4 separate regions of the Homo sapiens genome follow, and all the other regions are linked to region 3. Evidence: promoter capture Hi-C in 16 types of primary human blood cells and fetal thymus (Javierre and others, 2016). All regions are on one chromosome and are shown on one strand. Each heading gives the region's core, a stretch centred on a gene start or on the middle of the fragment in contact. The rest is flanking DNA. Distances are from core to core; before and after follow the strand shown. Region 1 has its middle 40 kb from the start of PSMB1. Region 2 overlaps PSMB1 (proteasome 20S subunit beta 1). Region 3 holds the start of WDR27 (WD repeat domain 27). Region 4 overlaps DLL1 (delta like canonical Notch ligand 1).

What was found. The method cuts DNA at HindIII sites, captures the fragments that hold promoters and counts their contacts. A CHiCAGO score of 5 or more calls a contact.
Region 1: a contact is called between a fragment that was not itself captured here and the fragment with the promoter of WDR27 in region 3, in 2 of 17 cell types (activated CD4 T cells and total CD4 T cells). The highest score is 5.5, in activated CD4 T cells.
Region 2: a contact is called between a fragment that was not itself captured here and the fragment with the promoter of WDR27 in region 3, in 14 of 17 cell types (activated CD4 T cells, M1 macrophages, naive CD4 T cells and 11 more). The highest score is 13.1, in activated CD4 T cells.
Region 4: a fragment that was not itself captured here is called in contact with the fragment with the promoter of WDR27 in region 3 in 2 of 17 cell types (monocytes and naive CD4 T cells); the score reaches 7.5 in monocytes.

What each region holds. Positions count from the first base shown.
Region 1 is chr6:170,511,622-170,514,782 of GRCh38, forward strand. No RefSeq gene overlaps it. Among named protein-coding and RNA genes, the nearest start is that of PSMB1, 40 kb to the right of the region's middle. The HindIII fragment of the contact is 2,414 bases long and covers 83-2,496 here.
Region 2 is chr6:170,537,607-170,540,618 of GRCh38, forward strand. The region is part of intron 4 of PSMB1 (proteasome 20S subunit beta 1); the gene reads right to left. Among named protein-coding and RNA genes, the nearest start is that of PSMB1, 14 kb to the right of the region's middle. The HindIII fragment of the contact is 302 bases long and covers 1,331-1,632 here.
Region 3 is chr6:169,700,754-169,703,719 of GRCh38, forward strand. It overlaps WDR27 (WD repeat domain 27), which reads right to left and starts at 1,276. Exons shown (of 26, transcript NM_182552.5): 1 at 798-1,276. C6orf120 (chromosome 6 open reading frame 120) reads left to right here and starts at 1,373. Exons shown (of 1, transcript NM_001029863.3): 1 at 1,373-2,966. The coding sequence starts at 1,707. The coding sequence ends at 2,282. RefSeq lists enhancers at 830-909, 1,230-1,319 and a silencer at 1,370-1,739. The HindIII fragment of the contact is 12,443 bases long and covers 1-2,966 here.
Region 4 is chr6:170,279,738-170,282,595 of GRCh38, forward strand. DLL1 (delta like canonical Notch ligand 1) reads right to left here. Exons shown (of 11, transcript NM_005618.4): 11 at 2,469-2,858. Among named protein-coding and RNA genes, the nearest start is that of LINC01624, 8.7 kb to the left of the region's middle. RefSeq lists an enhancer at 2,407-2,858. The HindIII fragment of the contact is 2,450 bases long and covers 223-2,672 here.

The DNA.
Region 1 (3,161 bases), core at 40-2,539, 810 kb after region 3:
TTCATTACCAAAATTGTAGATATATATTAACATCATGGGAAACTGAGAAAAATTATAGCTCAGTCATTTCCTCTTGAAACTAAGCTTTACAAAAAGAGAAAAATTTGAGTTCAAATCTAATCTAAAATTTGAATTCAAATGGCAGCTGGCAAAAATCGAGTTTTCTTAGCTCTAAGAATCTCTTCTTATACTACGACTACAATGCTTGAAATGTGCAACCTCTTTGAGCTGGGGCAGTCTGGCTATGGAGACAGGGCAGTCTCCACTCTACCTGTCCCGAACACTGGATCATGTGCGGCCTCATCACCTGCATTCTGATGGCCAGTGAGCATCACTCTCATTTTCCTGCAGGTGCGGTGGGGGTTGTGGGTACTTCGCATCCTCAGTAAGAGAAGACCATGTATGAACTATGAAGCCAATGATCATTGAGACCTCCAATACCTTTCATTCTAAAAAGTCCTTAAGAAGGTGGGATCAGTTAGGCAAGAAAATACCGCCACAACACAAAAGTTTAGACGTGTGAAACAGTGAAGGAACTTGAGTGTTAGAGTTACAAATAGTTTGTTAAGAATATTTATTGAATGCCTATTATACACTTGATACTATGTAGATGCTGGGAATACACTGATATATGGAACACATAGTTTCTTCCCACATGGAATTTATCATCTATTGTCCGAGAGAGATCAAGGAAATTAAAAACTAATAAAAATGCAAATGGAGTAATGTTATAAAGGAGACAAACAGGCTAGGCCACAGTGAACAATGGAGTATGGAACCTATTTCTTCTTAAAAGGAGGACTAGGAAGGTTGCTCTTTGGAGGCGCAACAAGTACTGACAGGTGAGAATGAGGAGCCATGCATGAATGAGCATGCAAGGTTGACACACCAAACTGGCCAAAGCCACTGAGAGAAAATAACTCTATAGGTTCAAGGGAAAAAATGAGGTCAGGGGAGCTGGAGGACGGTGGTCAGTGGGAGAGGGGCATGAAATGAGGGAGGAGAGGCGGCTGAGGGGGAAACACACACAGAGACCACACATGCATTAACTACCTGCAGGAGGGACACACACACACACGCAAAAACCACATATGGATGATTCACCTGGAGGGGATGCACACACAGAGACCACATGTGGATGAGCCATGTGGAGGGTACACACACACACAGGGGCCGCACATGGACAACCCATGTGGATGAGCAACACAACACAATGGAGAAATTGGTATGATTCCATATGCTTTAAGAAGGTCATTCTGGCTGTTTGGTGAGATTGGTGGGGGAATAGCTAGATAAATTAGTGCAGTGGCTATCCGAATGGCCCAGACCTGTGCAGATGATAAGTTAAATGATGGTTACTGAAGACGACAAGATGTGGTTGAGTCTGAGATATGTATGGTAGGTAGAACTGACAAGATCTGTACTGGACTAGATGTAAGGAATGAAAGGAAAGCCATTCAGGTCTATAGTGTGAGCAACTGATGAAAGGGCACATGAAGAAGACTCCTGGATGAACAGATTGTAGGAAAAGCTGGATACCAACATTCACTTTGGGACATGTTTCTATTGGAGAATCTCAGTAGTGATGTTATAGTCATTGAATATTTTAGTCTAGGATTCAAAGGATAGGTTTAGTCCAGAAATATAAATTTAGGACTGATCAGCATATAGATGACATTTAGTATCATGGGGCTGGTTGAAAAGCTAGGGAGAGAGTGGAAGGAGACTGAGCCTTGAGAAATGGCCACAACTAGAAGTTGGCTAGAGAAAAAGAAAGTGTACAGAAAACTGAGTAGCAGCTAATGAAACGGGAGAAAACTTCAGAGAATGTGGCATCACCAAAGCTAAGAGAATAGACTGTTTCAATCAAGAGAATTATCATGCTATTTGGCCACAAGGAGATCACTTGTACCTTGACAAGATCATTTTAGTGTAGTGGGGACAAAAGCCAGATCAGAAAGCAGGAAAGGATGGAAAGAAGTGGGATCAGCATTTATAGACAACATTTATGAGAGGTTTGACTATGAAAAGAATTAGCTAGAGGGTACAATAGCTAGAGGGTAATTAGGGAACAAGGGAGGCTCTCTTATTTCTTTATAATGGGAGGTAATAAAGCATATTAGTTACTGGTGAGGATGATTAAATACTAATGAAAGATCAATAGCACACAACAGAAAGGAAAAGAAAGAAGTTCTAGACAATGACCCCATGAGAGGGAATGGGATCAAAATCTCCTGTGAAGGGTTTGATTTTTGTTAGTAGGGGAGACCTTCTCCAGTTTTATCTGGATGGAATAAAGAGCAAAAGGTGCAGGTAGAATTACAGATTTGGGAGTGAGAATACGAAGGAGGTCTATTATGATATTATAACTTGTTTCAGTAGAGTATCAAGCTATATGGACAGTACTTAAGTGAAAGATGAAGCTGAAAAGATAGGCAGGGGTTATATCATACAGGGCCTTACCTGCCATGGTAAGGAGTGTTTTAGGTGCTAGGAAGCTTTTTAAAAACCAATGAAGGTATAATAATAAGAAAACAAATGACCCATTATAAAAATGATTTAAAACATAATTAGTCATTAGGGAAATACAAATTGAAACCACAATGTAATATTACTGTACACCTAGCAAAATGGCTTTAATAAAACTCTGACAATGTCACATGTTGATGGGAGAGTGAAACAACAAGGACTGCTAACACTGGCAGATATATTAATTATTATATGACAACGATTTTAGACCAACCATCATAAAAACACTTCAGGCTGGGCATGGTGGCTCACAGCTGTAATCCCAGTACTTTGGGAGGCCAAGGCGGGCAGATCACTTGAGGTCAGGAGTTCAAGACCAGCCTGGCCAACATGGTGAAACCCCATCTCTACTAAAAATACAAAAATTAGCCAGGCATAGTGGCACGTGCTACTCAGGAGGCTGAGACGAGAATCACTTGAACCCAGGAGGTGGAGATTGCAGTGAGCCGAGATCACGACACTGCACTCCAGCCTGGGTGACTGGGCAAGACTCTGTCTCAAAAAAATAAATACATAAAATAAAATAAAAATAAATAAAAAAACTTCAACAAGCAATACAAAAACACTTGAAATATATTAGAAAAATAGAAAGTTCCAGCAAATAATTAGAGGATATTAAGAATAACTGAATG
Region 2 (3,012 bases), core at 232-2,731, 840 kb after region 3:
TAAACTGTAGGCTTGGGAGTTAAAATACAATATTGAGTAACACAGAAAGGGTGGGTAAGAGGGAGAAAGGCATTTTTATGATCTTCAGGTAAAGATGACAAGAGAATTAACCACTGCAGATGTAAAACAGTTGGAAGCCATGAGAATACACAAAAATAATCCAAGCCATGGTAGTAGGTAAGGACCCGTAAGAGAGTAGGGAGAACACAGAGAGAGATGGTGAGGTTTCTGTAGGACACATCAGCCAAACTCAAACAGTCATTTGTAAGAAAGTCTTTATTTCTTGGCTCTCCTAAGCTAACGAAGAGGAGAACTTGAAGGAAAGCACGACTTATGTATATAGACAGGTCCAAGGGACACATCCGCAAGACACAGTAAAACGAAGAGAATTCTGTAACCTGTAAAATACGATACTGCTTTTGTTTAAAAGAATAAGAAAACTATTTGTACAAGCACAAAAAAGTCTGGAAAGATAAGTAACTGTGGCTGGTCATCTTTGAGCTCTGAATTAGAGGCAAGAAAAGAAGGGAATTAATTCATGTGCTTCTATCTTATTTGAGTTTGTTACAAAGAACACAGGTGATTCTACAATCGTTAAAAAGGCCTGTTAAAAACAACCGTGTTCTGGGTATGAGAAATCACGAGTCATTTACAAGGTATGATTTTTTAAAAACATAACTGATTTAGAAAACACATTATATACCAGAACTCAGTACCCTGGGAGATGTGATATAGGGACAATCTCCTTACTAACCATGTACAACTGCCACTGTTAGCTTTGTATGTTTTCTACTATAGAACTGCGTAAACTTGGCCAGGCGCGGTGGCTCACGCCTGTAATCCCAGCACTCTGGGAGGCTGAGGTGGGCCGATCACGAGGTCAGGAGTTCGAGATCAGCCTGGCCAACACAGTGAAACCCCATCTCTACTAAAAATACAAAAATTAGCTGAGCATGGTGGCACGTGCCTCTATTCCCAACTACTTGGGAGGCTGAGGCAGGAGAATCGCTTGAACCCAGGAGGCGGAGGTTGTGGTGAGCCGAGATCATGCCACTGCACTCCAGCCTGGGCAACAGAGCGAGACTTGGTCTCAAAAAAAGAAAAAGGATTGTGTAAACTGAATTCTCTGGTGGAGAAGGCACCATCTGAGGTCACCTAAGAAACTGGGAAGTATTTTTGCTGGAAGCAAGCTTGGGACAAGACATGAGATCACAGCAGGCAATCCACTAACCTCAATATACAAAAAAAGAAAGAGATGTAAGGTGTAAAGGCAGAAAAATGATTGTATCTCTCATGAGGATGACAGGCCACAAGTAAACTGAGGCCCAAAAGCTTTACCCAAGGATGGAACCAATCTCAGAAAACCACACACAACAAATTTAAAAAAATAAACCAAAGAAAGGGTGGGCTATGTCCAAGAACACAGCTTTAAAGACCCCCTAGAAGAAGCAAGAGAGACACTAGTAAAATCAGTATAAAACAGCAAAAATCAATAAATAAAAACAAAAATAAATGTAGAATGGCATGAATCTTGATTACAAAGTGCTTTTCCTCATCAAAGTAAAATCCAAAAAGCACAATCATTTCAATGTAAAAAATAAAATCAGACAAGTCTTAAAAGAAATACAGCTAAGCTTTGGATGGGAGAAGTTTTTCTAACAAGGCAAGAAACTGAATGTCATAAAGAAATGATTGACAGATTAGACTGTATGAAACACAGCAATTTCTGTGTAGCAAAAGGCACCACCCAAAAGAGACAAATAACACTCTTGGGAGTATCTATAATATCACAGACATTTGACACAGTCGAATGTAGTTCTTGAAAATCAGTAAGAAGAAAACTAACCTGCAAATAAGGAAATGGGCAACAGTTAATATATGAATCAGTCTCCAAAGAGGAAATTTATAAAGTCAATAAACATATGAAAACATGCCCAAGAATATATATAAATGAAAATAATAAACTGTTCAATAGGCAAAAAGATGTTTCAAAATGTGTTAATTCTAATACTGGGAAGGTTATATAAAATCGGGTACTCAGGGTACTGGCGTATCCTTCAGAAAGAGTATACTCAACAAAATACAAAAAAAAATTTATCTGACCCAATACTTCAACTACTCGAAGTTTATTCTAGCAAGACAAGCATAATTGGGGAAGTACACAAAAATGTATGTACAAGGATGTTCATCATAGTGTTTATATTAAGAAAACAGGAAGCCAAAATGCCCTTTAGAGGACTGGTTAGGTAAATGATGCTATGTATTACAGCAGCAAAAACAGAAGACAAAAAAATTTTTTGTTAATTAAATACAAAAATCATTATGCATATAGCTTAGATCTCCTTGATAATACATAATGTATAGTTACAGAAAAACAGATACCAAAGTCCTACTTACATAAAACTGCATGAGTGTATGTATAAACATGTACTGATTGTTTTCACTACAGAAAAACTAAAGCCACTTTTAATTTGGGAGAAAAATTTTTAAAAGGCATGAGAGCAGCTAAGAGATTAAAGACAGAGAGGTTAGTGCAGACAGCGGTTGACACCAAGGGAAAGAGCTGTGGACCTTGCTGTCCTGAAGGTTTCAATATGGAGCACTGCTCTCCAGGTCCCTGCATCCACCAACACAGAAGACAGTAAAGGAAGTCTCCTGAGACATTAGCAGAGGCTCTGGACTTAGGGGACCAGGCTCTAGAGTGGCAAAGGGTAGGAGCAAAACACATGAAATGGAAAGTTGATGTAAACAAAACACAGACCTTCAGCCCCCTTCCTCCTCTGAGGCCTAAAAAGCTGCCAACCGGGCTTCTCTTCCTGTAGTCCCACCTCACCTCAGGAAAAAAGATTAAAGAAATTCTTCATCTGAAGAAAATGCTGCTTACTTAAGCACCCAGTTAACGGCTGTCAGTTGACAAGCCATGTCAACAAGGACTTTCATAATCAAATTTTGGTACAAGACTCTTCAATGTGAATGGACAGCAAAAAAAAAAAAAAAAAAAAAAAAATCAGA
Region 3 (2,966 bases), core at 26-2,525:
AACATTTTTTTGAATTACAAAAGCAATACAATACAAAACATTTAAACAATGCAGAAATAATAAAGTTTTTTATCCCTACCTCCTCTCCCTGCTGTGCCAACCCTAGGGGATAATCAATGTCACAGGATATCCCCAGGAATATCCATGTACATACATGCACAGAACAAGTCAGGGAAAATAAACTAAATTTATTATTTTAGTGAGATTCTAGTGCACCTAACACTAGGTAAGCACTTCAGGAAAAGGCAGTGACAAGTGATTGCTAAAGATACCATAGTCTTAAAGTTAAGTCAGTAAACACAAGATAGTAATCCCAGATAAACTGGAAGCTGTAGAGTTAATACTCCTTTACTGGTACAGAGCAGTGTGTGTAAATTGTAGAAAATTTAGAAATACATAAAAAGATGAAAACTCTACTACTCGAGGAGTACCACTGATAAAATCCTGTGCATTTCCGTTTTTTTAATGTACATACGAATATTTTTAAAAAGAGAAAATTACTCCCTTCTGATTAGAAAAGATCGAAATTTTTCTCTTTTAGTGATAATCAAGTCAGAAACTTGCTGTTTGGCTCGAGTTAGGAAAACCTAGCCTGGTAGTTACCACGCAGGTTGAAAGGCCAGTGGGGCATAATTAACGAGCCCTCAGGGTCCACGCTCCCGCCCTCGGAGCTCAGAACCGACGGGAGGTGCAGGAGGCCGGGCATTTCTACAGCCCTGGTTCGTTCCTAAACTACTGAATCTTTTAAAGAGATCTGAGTGCTCCTTATACACAGCTGCTTTAATTAAAATAACCACCTGAGCCCTTTTCCTCCGAACTCCACATGCGCTCAGTTCTCAAAGCGCCGATCTCAAGCGGCCGCCCGGATGCTCCGGCCCGACTTGTGCCCCGAATTCCCCTGGAGACCCTCGCACTAGCACGGCGTCAGGAGGAGGCTTCGGGTGACGAGACAGCGGGCAACGGCTCTGGTCCAGAGCGCGCGTGTCCGCCGTTGGAAGCGGTCACGGCGGAACCCTCAAATCGCCCCCTTTCCTAGAGACCTCAGCGGAGCCGCGAGCAACCGCGCAGCCCCCGCGCTCCAGCCCTGCGCCCTAGGCACACGCCCCAGAGCAGCAGCTCGGGTTCGGCGCCGACTCCGCGCCGAGACCAGCCCGCTAGGGGAGGACTCACAGCACCCAGCTCCCAGGAGGGCACGCAGAGGACTACCGAGCCACACTCCGCCCCACGCTCGCCGCTATGGTTACTTGCCAGCCGACCCACGCGAGCCGCTATGGTTACTAGCCCGCCGCCCCTCGCGCCCACGCCCCTTTCGCTATCTCGCGACAGCTGGAGAAGCCTCGCTTCCGGCCGGCTCACTTACGGACCTAGCGTCACTTCCGCCTCCGGCGAGGCTCCGGCCTCGGGTCCGGATGTATAAAGCGCGGCCCCCTGCGGGGAGTGGTGGTGAGTCCGAGGGTGCCACAGCGGCCCTGCCCCTGCCCCTGCCCCTGCCCTGAGTGGGCGCCGCGCTACGGGGGAGGGGTTAACCCACCCCTCCTCCCCGGGGCCTCACGCGGGTGGGAAGGGACAGTCCCAGCGACAGACCAGGCGCCTGGACGCGCCGTGGACCCGCGTGCGGACGGCGGGGACAGGCTCCGGTGCTGAGCGCCTCCGGTGTCCCCAGCAGCACTGACCCACTTGCAGGCCCCGGAGCTGAGCCGCCAGCCATGGCCGCTCCCCGCGGGAGGGCCGCGCCCTGGACGACGGCCCTGCTGCTGCTCCTAGCCTCGCAGGTCCTGTCTCCGGGAAGCTGCGCGGACGAGGAGGAGGTCCCCGAGGAGTGGGTGCTCCTGCACGTCGTCCAGGGCCAGATAGGCGCCGGGAACTACAGCTACCTGCGGCTGAACCACGAGGGCAAGATAGTCCTCAGGATGCGCAGCCTCAAGGGAGATGCGGATCTGTACGTCTCCGCCAGCAGCCTGCACCCCAGCTTCGACGACTACGAGCTGCAATCGGCCACCTGCGGCCCGGACGCCGTGTCCATCCCCGCGCACTTCCGGCGCCCAGTGGGCATCGGCGTCTATGGACACCCCTCCCACCTGGAGAGCGAGTTCGAGATGAAGGTGTACTACGACGGCACGGTCGAGCAGCACCCGTTCGGCGAGGCCGCCTACCCCGCCGACGGCGCAGATGCCGGCCAGAAGCACGCTGGTGCCCCGGAAGACGCCTCGCAAGAGGAGGAATCTGTTCTCTGGACGATATTAATTAGCATTTTGAAACTGGTACTTGAAATTCTCTTTTGAGTCGTTGACCACACTCTGGGATATAAAACCCTCCATCTGTGAAGCTGATTGCAGTTTGCTGTGAACCTTGCTACTTGTACTTGGTTGAAGTTCTAGGTACCTTTAGTCAAGGGATGGAAAAATAAAGCCATACGCAGTTTTGTTACCTCAGTTACCCCAAAAATAGGAAAAGCAGCAAGCACAGTATTTTAAAGATCATAATTCCTATAAAAGGACTGTGCACAAAGTGTTTAGACTCCATTTTCATTAGGCAGGTTGACTAAAAATGATTGCAGTAACAGGTTTATATAAAATAGAGCAACCTTTCATGCTGTGACACAAATCAAAAGGTTGATAACTTTGTAATTTTACTCTGGAGATTCTAACCGAAGTTGGTGTAAGTTTTCAAGAGTTACTAAAATCAAGTTGGAAATGATTTACGTACACTTCCCTGAGCCTGGACTAAAGCCTCATGCCTGTACCCCAAGTAGGTGATGGTACTTTTCTATACAAAAAGGATTTCCTGGCAGGCAGGTATTTACAAAGTTTGTTCCTGTACCAGTCCAATAATGACAACTCTAAATCCAGCTGCACCAAATCTTAGTGGGCCATTTGTCATACCTATGAAAATTCTTCAGTTATTAAATAACTTTGTCAGTGCTACCTATGGTAGGCCGGAAACAATGTAGATTAGGAAGTTTCATG
Region 4 (2,858 bases), core at 198-2,697, 580 kb after region 3:
TTTCTGTAAAATGCATGGACTGAGGAATTACTAATGCATAACACTTTGTTTGCTGGATACCAAGTAGACGCACTCTTACCATATACAGGGCTGTATCTAGGCAGCCAGTTATTAGAATAAAAACAGAATACTATGTTCATCCGCTCAGATAATCCCTGTGTTTGGCTTCATGTTATGGTTCGAAACTCCTAGTGACATTGGTAAGAGTGAACACGAGAATGAAGCTTCTTTCATGATGAAATGTCCTGAGTGTGTGTCTGTGTGTTCTCAAATTATAGCTCACATGGATAGAGAACGTTTTCTTGCTTCAGCCTCAAGTGGGGATTGGGTTGCAGTGGTGAACCAGGGCCAACACAGCCCGCCCTCTTTGAGGTTGCAGTCTCCTGGGACACACGCCCACTAAACAAACAGCTACACGAATTAATCATGCCACAGGGCAAACTGCAAGAGCACCATCACGTGCGGCAGGTAACCCAGGCGGGTCATTTTCGTGGCGGAAGAAGGTCACACTGGAAGTCACCAGACAGATGGAAGATCCCACTCAAAGTCGCAGAGTGGGGGCGGATGGAGAACCAGGCTGCCAGGGCGCTGGCTGGAGCCGAGCGGTAACAGACCCGTGGGAGAATAACGAAACGAGGCTCCAAGACAGGCGGGAGCCGGATGGTGCATGACCTGAGAGGCCAAGTCAAGGATTTTGAACTCCACGCTAAGAGCAGCCGGAAGCCGTTCGCTGGCGCCAGCTGAGCACATGCGCAGAACCGTGCCCTGAAAGGCACCGTCCCCTGCAGACGGGAGGAGGTGCTCCCAGCACTGCTGCAGACGCTGCCGTTTCCCTTTCAAGGACTCAGCAGAGTGGGCAATCACCTAGGCGCGCCACCAGCGAGCCTGAGACTCTGCTACCAGCGTCCTTGACCGGACTCCCGCTCTCCACCCAGTTTAATTGGCTTGCTTTTGGCCTTGTAAGATTTCTCATCTGCGATGTGCGTATGCAACCACAGCAAGCCTCCCTCAGATGCATTCTGCTGTGGGTCACGTCACAGACACGGCGGTCCATACACACCCGGAAACTGTCGTGTTTGCGTGTGCGTGTATTCACTGTATGGTCCGGCTTAATGCTTTTGCTTATGGGAAGTTTCAAACGTGTACGAAAGAGGAAAGAACACGGAAGTGAGCGCCCCCATGGGCCACTCCCAGCTGCAGCGACCCCCAGCAGTGCTCGTGGGACTCCCCGTGCCACCGTGCCCGCGGCGGGGGGCTCCGAATCAGTCCCAGGCCTCGTATTGTTTCATCCATAAATATTTCAGAATTTTCTCTAAAAGATAAGGTCTCTTTTTAAACTGAACAGTAATAACACATCACATCTAAACTATTTAGCAGGTGCACTTTAAAATCATGTGGATATCCCAGTCAGCGCTTACATGTCTCCAGTGGGTTCATAAAATTTTTAAACTGTTTGAAACAGGAACCAGATCCAGACGCTGCGATGGATTGATATGTCCGTGTCTCTTTGTATCTATGGGTTCCCCCTCACCATTTTCTTGTTTTTTCCTTGCAATTTATTTGGCTACAGAGTTCCCTGGATTCGGCTGCGCAGATGCGTGGGGCGTCGAGGAAGGAGTTTTCAGTCCCGTGTTTCCGTAACTGGTAATGAGACTGAGAGCTGTCATCGGATTCAAGCTCAATGTTCTTAGCAAAACACTTCTCCTCTTTGCTGGTGTTGCTGGCCTGGCATTTAACGTGCCCTTAATGCAAGGAGGAAATGCAAGCGGAGTCGGGTCTGAGGGGAGTGAGCGCCAGTGCCTCCGCGCAGCTCCTGCTACATCGGTCGCCCTCTTTCCATCCTGGGAACCGCTCAGCGCTTTGAGGTACGCGCAAGTTAAAAATGCAATCACTACCATAAGGAACCCGGGCTTAGCGGGGGGCAAAGCGGCAAATGAGGGGTCAGCCCACAGGGAGCCCGTGCGGTCCTGCTGAGCCAGCAGGCGGGACGCGCTTAGAGACGGGGCTGCCCACCGACGGGAAGCGGAGGAGCAGCTTCCGTGACTCCCACGCCCCGTCTGGGGCCATGTTGGCGTCAAACGGCGACAAAATCATGACAGCTGTGACCCACTGGGTACAAAATAACTCACAAGTCTACACTGACATGAATGAATGAATGAATGAATGAATGAATGAATGAATGAGGAACGCTCATTCTTTCTGCGGAAAGAACTAATAAATGCATGGGGGGATGGAATTAGAAAATCGCGGCTGCTTCATGCGCGTGCCTGCTCTTACCAAGTCACCTCATGATGGCCAGCAAGCAGCTTCCTGAGGGAGGAGAGGAACGGGCTGCTTCTCATGGATCCAGGGAAACCAAAGCCTTGAAAAGAGAAACACCAAGGCCACCTCTGCCCTCAGCCTCGCGGGCCGCAGGTGAGTGAGCACACCTCCGCTCTAAGGCAAAGCCAAGTAACTACGCCTTCTGGTTGTCATTCATAAAATTTATTTTGGAAAAATATTTTAAAAAGGAATTTCTTCATTAACAAAACAGTAAAAAACTCAAATAACATTTGCACAATATTCCATAAATACATTTATATACAAAAAAATATAGTCACATAGACCCGAAGTGCCTTTGTACATATTTACCAAAATTTAAATTATAAAAAACGAACATCACAAAATACTCAAGCTTTACAGATATCATGAAAAATATTTTTACAAATCCAAAAAATAACACACATCTTTTCCATCTAGAAAAAGCACATCTTCGTATCAAAAAGGACAATAAAGGCAGTGTTTGTGTTTCTAATTCAAGAAAAGACTGGCTCATAAGAATCCAAAATATACACTCAGGCAGTGCATGCTTCTTATGC